Regions from separate parts of the Homo sapiens genome. Here all the other regions are linked to region 3. The links are contacts of gene promoters, found by promoter capture Hi-C in human tissues and cell types (Jung and others, 2019). All regions are on one chromosome and are shown on one strand. The core of a region is centred on a gene start or on the middle of the fragment in contact, and the rest is flanking DNA. Distances in the headings are between cores, read along the strand shown. Region 1 overlaps PEPD (peptidase D). Region 2 has its middle 9.8 kb from the start of CEBPG. Region 3 holds the start of SLC7A10 (solute carrier family 7 member 10).

Evidence for each region. Contacts are between HindIII fragments. The study calls those that stand out against the background at their distance.
Region 1: a contact is called between a fragment that was not itself captured here and the fragment with the promoter of SLC7A10 in region 3, in 1 of the 25 tissues and cell types used here (spleen).
Region 2: a fragment that was not itself captured here is called in contact with the fragment with the promoter of SLC7A10 in region 3 in 2 of the 25 tissues and cell types used here (H1 embryonic stem cells and bladder).

Annotation. Positions count from the first base shown.
Region 1 is chr19:33,414,575-33,417,823 of GRCh38, reverse strand. All of the region lies in intron 9 of PEPD (peptidase D), which reads left to right. Among named protein-coding and RNA genes, the nearest start is that of CEBPG, 42 kb to the right of the region's middle. RefSeq lists an enhancer at 1,340-1,489. The HindIII fragment of the contact is 3,918 bases long and covers 1-3,249 here.
Region 2 is chr19:33,362,075-33,365,672 of GRCh38, reverse strand. No RefSeq gene overlaps it. Among named protein-coding and RNA genes, the nearest start is that of CEBPG, 9.8 kb to the left of the region's middle. The HindIII fragment of the contact is 9,696 bases long and covers 1-3,598 here.
Region 3 is chr19:33,224,481-33,228,145 of GRCh38, reverse strand. SLC7A10 (solute carrier family 7 member 10) reads left to right here and starts at 2,296. Exons shown (of 11, transcript NM_019849.3): 1 at 2,296-2,593. The coding sequence starts at 2,443. The HindIII fragment of the contact is 48,714 bases long and covers 1-3,665 here.

The DNA.
Region 1 (3,249 bases), core at 99-2,598, 190 kb before region 3:
TTCTGTTTGGTTTTAAAGGAATAGTCAAGAGGCTGTTTCTCAAAGCCTGGCACAGGATGCCCACGACCTCCTCTCCTGCTGCCTGAGGAGGGATCCCCATTCTCCAGCCTCCCTCCAGGCCTCTGAACAGTGACCACGATGGCTAGGTCACTGTACACAGAGCTCCTTGGGTACCAGGCACCATTGTGTATACTCCATGTATGTTAAATCATTCGACTGGCATAGCAGCCCTGGGAGGGAGGCACCGCTATCATCCCCATTTTACAGATGAGGAAACTGAGGCACGGAGAGGCCATTCAGCTGGCCAGCAGCAGAGCCAAGATTTGCCCTTGAGGTTGGTGTTGAGTCCCAGAAGGCTGGGTATGTGGGGCCCAGAGCAGGGAGCCCAGCACAGGGACCGGGGTGCGGAACACACCCTCCCCACCTCAGGTTTGTAACCCCATGTCCCAACTACCTGCTTTCCTAAGCCCTCTGCCCAGCTGAGGGGGCTCCACCAGCTCTGCGCATTTTCACTCCCAAGCTTCTGTTTCCGGCCCAGCCTCCCCTCTCCACCTCTTGAGTACCTGAGATCCATTGAGGCCCAGCCGGGGAAAGGGAATGATGTGGCCAGGGCCACCCCTTACACTGCCTCACTAACCTCTTCGGCGCTACCCCACCCATGCTCGAGGCACATAGCTTGGCCGACACTTGCTGCCAGGCAGCCCTTCTACCGCTGTCTGGGCAGCTGCAGCATTTTTATAGGACTGTGACTCGTCTTCATGTTAGGTGATAAACTTCTGAGGGCAGGAGCTGGGCCGTGTGCCCGGGAGCGCTCCACGGGCTGGATTTGTGGGTCCCAGTGGGAGGCCCAGCGACGCCGTCTCTGGGGACCCCATTCCTGCAGATCTGGGTCTGGGAACTTGCTGCTCCTGCCCCATTTGTCATCTCCTGGCACTGACAGATGTGCCTGCCCCACTGACACTGCAGTAACTCCATCCACCTCGTTATTCACCACTCATGCAGTTCCCCCAGGTTGCTTAAGGGCTCTCTCACTTATGCCTGGATACAAGCCTCTTCTACCCGAGTCTTGCCTGGGAGAAATTTATAGGTGAGGGTGTTAGAGGAATGGCCACATAAGGAAAAACAACGGGGCCCACACAGCAGCCGGGATGTCGTTGGCTGGGACTTAGGCAGACCACGGCCTCCTCTCAGCCAATCAGGAAGCCCCTCCCTGCTGCTGGGGAGGAGGTGCGCGCTGGGCTTGAGCCTGGCTGGGGTGTGTGTACCACCCCATCCGCCTTCCAGGTGAGCAGGAGGGAGCAGGGGCTGTTAGACCCAGCTGGTCCGGGGCTGCACGATGTGAGTCATAAATTTATGGAAGGAGCCTATGGAGATGGTCGCAGTGGGGCGGTGACACTCCTGCCTGTCTTGCTGGCTGCTGCCCTCTGCTGGAGAGCCTGTTCCAGGTGTTAATTATTTTGGGTGGGTAGTAGCTAGCCTGCTCCAGGGATGACTTGGCTGGACCCCTCCTGCCTCGCACTTGGAGGAGTTGTGATGCTGCCACTGCCATGGCATGTCGGTCATCCACGGGACAGGCTGTTAGCCTGTCCTCATAGCCCACACTTGCTCCTGGTCATCCCAGCACCACTCGCCAAGCTCTGGCCCAGCTGTGCGGGGGCACACGTTGCGTCCGCATCAAGCATGGGCCCCAGTTTGGAATGTCCACCCCTCAGTGCTCACCGCTTGAAGATCAGAACTGTGCCGCGCCGGGCTCACACGCTTCCACAGGCCCCCTGTGCCGCCACAGCTGCCCAGAACTTGGGTGCCCTTGTGCGTCCACACCCCAAGCCTAAAGTCTGCAGAAAACGTGGGCTCGTTTTGCCCACCTGTTATTGCCACCAAAGCACCAGTGTGTCCTCAAGTTGCGTCAGAAAAGGTCATTTAAAACAAAATTCAGGACTGAAGTCCACTGTGAAGCATTTCAGCTTTTTTTAGGCGGGCGTGAATATCCAGCACGTGGTGCTCCTCCTCTTTTCAACTCCTTCCTATGGAACAGTGTGTGGAGTTGTCAACGTGGCCGGCAAAGGTGACCAGTGTCGGGCTGCACTTTGCAGGTGAAAACTGGGTCAGCCTTTCTTTAGTTTGATGCTTCTGTGAGCTGTGCCTTCTTGAAGGCACTATTTTTTTCTTAAAAAGCAGCAAAGGCATTCAAAGACAGTTGTCTCCACTGAGTGGGTTATGCAGGGGGAAGCTTGCTGCAGGCGAGAGAGCCAAGTTTCCTCACTGCCTCCCCTTTCTGATGTTTTTTTCTTGTATTGATTGATTGATTGATTTTTTGAGAGCTGGGGTCTTGCTGTGTTGCCCAGGCTGGTCTTGAACTCCCGGCCTCAAGCAGTCCTCCAACCTTGGCCTCCCAAAGTGCTGGGATGACAAGTGTGAGCCACTGCGCCCGGCCTGCCGCTCCTTTCTTGTAGAATATGTGAGTTCCTCTGCACATGCGGATGGCATCTCTGTCCCTCTGCCTGTCTTTTCTGAAGCCGGCCAGTCCCAGCGCAGCCCGTGGTTGTCTGCAGGTCACTTGTCCCACAGAGGTCCGCTGTCGCCATCACGTCGAGAATGACCATGTGACCTCTGAGGTTCGCTTCTGTTGGTGCAGGACCACATCTCACAAAGCCAAGGGAGCACCCCTGTTCCACGGCGTGGGTCAGGCCTCTTCTCGGGCTTTCTGGGAGGGCGCCACAGAGGTGTGAAGTGGCTTCTGAGGCTGCCTGTCTGGCCTGGCGCACAGGGCTTGCCATGTGGGGCACTGCCCTTGCCTGCCTTGGTAGGAACGTGCCTGGACTGTGGCGAAACTCAGCGCTGAGACTCCCAGGAGCGAGGTGGAAGCGGCCTCCTGAGCGCTTGCACCACGAATACGGGGGCGGCTGAGGAGAGGAGCATGTGGCTTTCTTGCTTCCCTGGCAGCTCCTGAAATCCTTTCTTTTCAGGAAATATTTCACTCGCAGATACCCAATTATCCTGTGAGGTTTGGAAGGCAAGTCTGAAAGCCCATTGAATCTACCACAGCCGTTCCTGCATAACAACTGCTTAATATCCAATCATGACAATTATACATAATTTGTGTTGACAGTGCCTAGAAGATGAAACTCCCTCGTATGGACGTTCTCTAAGGCAGGCCTGGAACGTGCAGGGCAGGACCGCCATGTGGCGTGCCCTTGGGCGGCCGCAACGACTGCCCTGGTCGGGGGTGGGCGGGTGGGGGCCACCTGG
Region 2 (3,598 bases), core at 117-2,616, 140 kb before region 3:
AGTACGGGCAATATTTAATAATGGACTTCAATTAATGATAATGTATCAATATATCTTCGTTAACTATAACAAATATATGAATGTAAGGTGTTAGTAATAGGTGAAACTGGGAAATCTATACCTCCTTCTCAATTTTTTATAAATCTTAAGTTGTTTTGAGTCATGCACAGTGCCTGTAATCCTAGCACTTTGGGAGGCTGAGGTGGGAGGATTGCTTGAGGTCAAGTTTGAGACCAGCCTGGCCAACATAGTGAGGCCCCATCTCTACAAAAAAAAATTAAAAATTAGCCGAGCATGGGCGTGTGCCTGTGGTCCCAGCTACTTGGAAGACTGAGGCGGGAGGGTGGCTTGAGCCTAGAAGGTCGAGGCTACAGTGAGCTGCGATAGTGCCATCCCACTCCAACCTGGGCAACAGACCGAGACCCTATCTCTTACAATAATTAATTAAAAATAAAATAGTTCTGAGAAATTTTTTTAAGTATTTGGGATGCATTGCAGTCTTAACATTAACCTAAAACAGTACTGTTTTAAAACATTAACAACCCAGGCCAGATTTTAGCCAAATGGGTAAAGAAGAAAGCAGCAGAAGAGCCTCAGGCCCCACTCCCTCCCTCAGTCCACGAGCGGTGACTGTGCTTCTGCCAGGCAAACCCAAATCATGCAGAGAAATGGAGCAGAGAGGGAGAGTAGATCTACAGGAGCTCCTCCAGGAGGAGAGAGGGATAGAAAGAAGGAAGGGGAGGTGGAGGGGTCCACTTTGAGACTGCAGGGTGACGGAGAAGCCCAGGACACCATTTTTGGGTCTAGTGGGGAAGCCCCATCCTCCGCTGAAGGTCCAAACACCAGGTCAACCCCTGGAAGCCACAAGACTGAGCTGAGAAGGAAATGAGAAGCTTCCCAGACAGAGGGACATGGTTGTCCCTGGCACTCATTCTCCTATTCTCTTTCATCTGTCTCAGTCAATAGATGTTGATTGAATTCCTGCTCTGAGCCAGGCCCTGTCCCAAGTTCTGGGAGTCCTGTGAGGACCAAGCCAAGGGGCTGGAGAAGGGGGCAGGGGGGAGCTGGTGCCCAACAGATGAGACAGGGCCAAGGAGACACAGCCAGGCCAGGTGGGCTTGTGGCCTAGAATCCCTGTGCTTAGCGTCAGGAATCTGCGTCCACTCCTAGGCCGCCGTGACTGCTCCTTTTTCATCTTATTTTTCGTTTAGATTCCCACGGTAATAATCAGTTCCTGTGTCAGCCTCAACTGGGATTCATATTGACTTGGGTTTAGCAGGTGGAGTCGCCAGTCTATTTGCATAAATGTTGGGGTTTTGGCTGGAAGAGGAAGGTGGGGTTGTTGTCTTTCCTTTGCAGAGGTTTCTGGGGGGGAACTGAGGTGCAGAAGAAACTGGGATTTGGGGAGAGACAAGTGCTGTTTTGTAGTCCTTACAAAGAGAGTGACTTTCCCCCCGACCTCCGTGAACGATCCCCTGTGCCTTCAGCCAAGTGGGAACTGGAGTGAATGCAGAAACCACTTTGATGCCTCTAGGAAGTGATTCTTGTAAAAATCAGGAATCCGTGCCCTTGGCATAGGGGTATCAACTTTGTGAAGAAGAAGAAGAAGGAGCTGAAGCAGAGGCTCCACTGAAGCCCTCAGGAGACTTTGGGGGCCTTAAATATGAATGGCCTGGGTACATTATGGGGGGTGCCCAGGAACTCACTAAGGCCGGGCACCCTCAGAAACACTTTGTGGTGGAGGTCAGAGCATTTGTTCTGTTACAGTGAAAAAGATCCAACTGCACCCATAGGTGGGAAGCCCTGAGCCTACTTGAGAGCCAAAAGAGCAAATGGAACATTCCAGTTTAATCTCAGCTAGACGACGGATAAAACTAAAAGTCGCAGCAGCCAGAATGGCTTGTGAGATCGGAGTGTGTCTAGGGCAGAGGGAAGTGGGAGAGGGAAGGAGGAGGATTCTTCCTTCTAGGGAGAGGGAGGTGGAGGATGATCAAGAAAAGCTGGAAATGCCCGCCTCATTCTGATATGCCATCTGGTGGGCCATTTCCTCCCAATTCCATATATCCAAATCCTTCCCATTCCCCAAACTCCAGTCTCAGTCCTGGCCTGTGTGTATACTTTGTTCTTATAGAGAAGATTGTCTCTCTTTCTCTCTCTCTCTCTGTGTGTGTGTGTGTGTGTGTGTGTGTGTGTGTGTGTGTGTGTGCTTTAGAGACAGGGTCTTGCTCTGTCACTCAGGCTGGAGTGCAGTGACACCATCATGGCCTGCTACTACAGCTTTGACCTCCTGGGCTGAAGAGTTAAGAGAGACTCCTGTTTCAGTCTCCTGAGTAGCTGGGACTACAGTTGTGGACCACCATGCCTGGCTAATTTTTCAATTTTTTGTAAAGACAGGGTCTCAATATGTTGCCAAGCTGGTCCTGAATTCCTAGGCTCAAGTGATCCTCCCACCTAAGCCCCACAAATGGGGATTACAGGCATGAGCCCCTGTGCTTGGCAAGACTCTGTTGTATATACATATTACTGTGCTATGTACCTATGAGACTTTAGAAAACACAGCTGGGGAAATGGGTCCCTCCAACCTGAATGTGGGATCTGGGAGGCACACAATGACCTCCACTGCAATCCACTTCTTGCGTCACTCGGATCCACTTCTTACTTACACGTAGTAAGTTAATCCCATCAGTGAACAGCTTCTCTGGGATTCTGGATGGCCTCCTTTCCTGGAGAAGCCTCCAAGAGGACAGCTAGTGGGATGAAGGATGAACAGCAGCTCCTACTGCTACAGCTGACCTCAAGGCTATAGCTGGTTTTCATCATCTGCCTCCCCTACTACCCATTCGAGATTCCCTCACCCTTGGCTAGCACACCTCTCCTGGTCTAAGTAGTTCACCTGTGGGGTGACCCACACCTTCATGTCTGAGAAATCTGCATGCTCTATTACCATGTCCTTCTCAAGTCTTGGCTGCTGCACCTGTTGATTTACCATCAAACTTGGGCAGGGGATCATATCTGCAAAAGAAGTACAGGAAGAATAAATCAGAGGCTAATGAGATGGTTACCTACAAGAGGTATATGGGAACTGGGTAGAAACAGTGAGAGAGTTGCCGGATGATGGCTCAGATCTGTAATCCCAGCACTTTGGGAGGCCGAGGCAAGAGGATCACTTGATGCCAGGAGTTTGAGACCAGCCTGGCCAACATAGCAAGACCTTTTCTCTACAAAACGTATTTAAAAATTAGCTGGGCGCAGTGGTGCACCTGGAAGACACCATCTTAGCCTAAGTGATCACAGTTCACATCACCAGCAATAAAACACGGAGACATCACGGACCCCCTGCTGCAATGCACCAAGAAGTGCACAGTCTCACTCCCATGTGGCATTCTTGCCAAATACACAGTCTCAATCCGATCATGAGGAAATATCATAGAAACTCAAGCTGAGGAACATTCTATGAAATAGCTGCCAGTACTGTTCAAAAATATCATCATGAAAAATGAAGAAAGGCTGAGAAACTGCTCTGTAGTGGAGGAGATGAAGGGGACATGACAACAATGTCCCATAGGCTGCTAGAATGGATTCTGGAACAGAAAGGACA
Region 3 (3,665 bases), core at 1,047-3,546:
CTGAATCACATCATATGTGAATGGCAGCTTTATCTTTCCCTTTACTATCTTCATACCTTTTTACTTATTTTTCTTGTCTTATTGCTCTGGCTAGGACCTCCAGTACACTATTGTATAGAATATTGACAAGTGCCAACATCCCTTCTCATTTTCAATCTCAGTAGAAAAGCATTCACACTTTCACCACTAAACATGATGTCAGCTGTAGGGTTTTTGTTTGTTTCTTGGTTTCTTGGAGATTTGTTTTTAGGTAGATACTTTTATCAGATTAAGGAGGTTCTCTTCTGTTTCTATTTGCTAAGAGTTGTTTGTTTACATCACGGATGACTGTTTTTTGCATCTGTTGAGGTTTTCCTTTTTTCTCTCTATTAATGTGGAGAATCATGCTGATTGGTTTTTGGATGGTAAACCAATCCTACTAACCTTTTGTTCCCATTGAAATTTGCAGGTTCTAGTTCAATTCCACGAAAAGGACCTCCTGAGCTATGGGGCCTGGCTGACAACATACAAACTCCATCCTGTGCAAAGCCCTAGGCCGACCTTTCCCCCACAAACGCATACTCCACATTCCAGGTCCCAGAGAGACACCCTCGAAAACCACAGGCTTCAGAGCTGCGAGGCTTGCGCCAGCCCCTGCCCCTTGGCAAGCTGCCCCTGATTGCACCAGCCCTGGCTAGACCCTCTCCCAGCAGACCCTAGAATTGCGAGGGCAACTGGGGGGCTGGGGAGAGTCAAACCAGAAGGTCGAGGCCTCTGGCCCCTAACACCCGCGACAATCAGGGGTCTCCGGAGCCAGGGCTGCCCCTACCCTGCGCGAGGCTCCTTTAAGAGAGTCGGCCTCTGAATGGTCTCTGGGGCTGGAGGTGGAGGGCGCCAAGAATGCCGGTCTCCGACGACAGAAGCGAGAGGGATGCAGCTTCGCCGGGTGGCCTCCCCCTCGGCGTCCCACCAGCACGTCCACCCTGGATCCTCCCGCTCCTACTCCTACCCCAAGTCCCCGCCCCCAACTTCGAAGCTCCTGTGTGCCTGCAAACGCCGGCCCCGCCCCGCTCCCACCTCCAGGCCCTGCCGCTGCCAGGGACCCGCCCCTGCCAGGGACCCGCCCCCGCCCCGTCCCACCCCGGTCCACCCTGCAGCCGTCGGACCCCTGGCAGGGCCCCAGCAAACCCGGAGGCCGCCACTGGGGGGAAGGACGGGGCGCCCGGCGAGGCCTCATCCACATGCAGGGGACGGCGCGTCGCGGCGGCCGCCAGGAAGAAACAAAGGCTGTTCCGCCGCCGGCCGCACAGTGCCAGGCTCGCCCCGCCCGCCGCCCCGGTGGCCCCGACGCGGCCCCCCTGGATCTTTTCCGCCGGCCTCGGCTGCACAGTCCGGACGGCTTCCGGGAGGAGGCAGCCTCCCTCGGATCCCCGCACTCCCGACCCTCTCCCGCGACCACAGCCTCCTTCTCCGTGTCTCCCGGGCATTCCAGGTCGCCTGGCCTTCTTGAGCCGGGCTGGATCGCGCGGGACCTGCACCAGAGACCCGAGTTCTAGTCCGCTGAGCCCTCACTCTGACCTGGGACGAGGAGCCTGTAGTGAAGATCTCAGGCCAGAGGTGGCCCAGAGCCTGGTAGGGTGGGCGAGCCGTGTCCAGGACTCGTCACAGGTCTTGGGTCCCCGTGATGAGGATGAGAGCCCCCGGGATCTTCACCTCGACCCTCAGGCCTTTGATCCAGGGTGCATAGGACACCCAGACCCCTCAGAGGAGTTCCAGACCTCAACCCCCACCCCTCCTGAGGTTGTCCGCCTGGGAGCCTCAGGAGGCACGAGAAAGGGTTTGGTCTCAGCCCTGCACTTGCTCGGCGATCGCTACTGATCTCTGGGCTTCAACTTCCACCTGTAGAATGGACTCACCCTGGGAGCTGTCTCCTACACACACACACACACACACACACACACACACACACACACACACATCGTGCAGGCATAGAGTACTAAAGGGAGCACACACTGCATCCCCACACGCGGCCAGCTGTTATTCTTGCCGTCCCCCTCGGCCTCCCTGAGAGCAGGGATTGTCTTGTCTCGGAGCTCTGCTCCCCAACCCGGCCCCAAGAATGGATGTAACTCAGGCAACTGGAGGGTCCCTTCCTTCGCCCAACTGGGAAGTCCTTCCTAGATCTGCCCCAAGTCCTCTCCTTCCTTCCCAGGCCGGGACTGGGGGAGGGGGCGTTCCCTTTAAGGGAGGTGGGGGAGGGGGCTGTGGGCCGGCCCTCCTTCCGCCCCTCCCGGGCCCCCGCCGCCCGGGGCCCCCAGTCCCGGGCCCGGAGCCAGCGCATGCGCCCGCCTGTGGGCGCTGTCCCGGCTGCGAGGGCCGTGAGCTCACGGACCGACGGACCGACGGGCGGCCGGCCGGACAGACGGGGCAGCGCAGGGAGCGGGGACGCGGCGGGACAGCGACATGGCCGGCCACACGCAGCAGCCGAGCGGGCGCGGGAACCCCAGGCCTGCGCCCTCGCCCTCCCCAGTCCCAGGGACCGTCCCCGGCGCCTCGGAGCGGGTGGCGCTCAAGAAGGAGATCGGGCTGCTGAGCGCCTGCACCATCATCATCGGTGAGCGGGACCCAGGCGGGCGGGCGCCGGGCGGAGGCCGAATGAGGGGCGCAGCCGCTCCGAACGAGGGGCGTCCCCTCTCCGGGCGCTCGGACGGGTCTGCCTGGGGAACCTGCAGTCTGGCCTCAGAGAGCGCTATGACCGCGGGGAGGTCAGGGGCTGCTGGCCCAGGGTGCCAAAGCTCCGTGTTCCCACCTCCCGGCCGCCTGCACCTGGGGGAGTTTTGGGTCCCCTCCACCGCTGGACTCTTCCTCCTGACTCGATTTTGCTGCGGGGCTTTTGCAAGGCAGTTACCCTCAGTTTCCTCATCTGTGAAATGGCCATGACTGCAGTCCTGCGATTAGCGCAGGAACTTGACCAGTGTAGGGGCTGGTCAGGCTGCGGCAGGCTGAGCTCCCCAAGTTCTGTACTGTGGGTCAGTCTGAGTACCTACTGTGTGCAGGGTCCAGGTGCCACGCAGTGCAGTGACTTTATTCTTGGAAAGCAGGAGGGCCTATGAGCAGAGTGAGCAAGCGCAGCCTGCGCAGAAGGGACGGAGGTTCAGAGCAGGCAATGACTGCAGGGTTTGGCAGCAGGACCCAGGAGAGGGGGCGGGTTAGCCAGCAATTGGGGGCAGCAGTGGGCAGACCCAGCCTGCAGAAGGCCAGCTGCTCCCTGAGCTGGGATCCTGGTGGGCACTGGACACTCGCCTGGTCTGGAGGCCCTGGACTCCAAAGTCCCCACCTGAGAATGGGTCCATGTCCTGCCCCCACATAGGGGTTTCTGGGCAGGCAGAGAGCTCAGAGGTCATGGGAATGGCAGTGGTATTTTTCCACTCTCTGTCCCAAGTCATGGATACTGACTTGTTTCTTTGTCTACACAGAGTGCCTCTGAGCCCCTCCAGGGAGGGACAGGAGAAGTGGTTTGGGGGGTGAGTGACTGGGGCCTCGACTGTTCTCACCTTACCGCCAGCCAGTCTTCCCGGTCCCCTGCCAGTGAGAGCCACTTGTGTCTTCACTGCCTTCCCACCCTCAGACCCCTGGAGATGGAGAAAGTTTGGGGGCTCAGTAGGGCAGACCCAGGGTCTTCACCT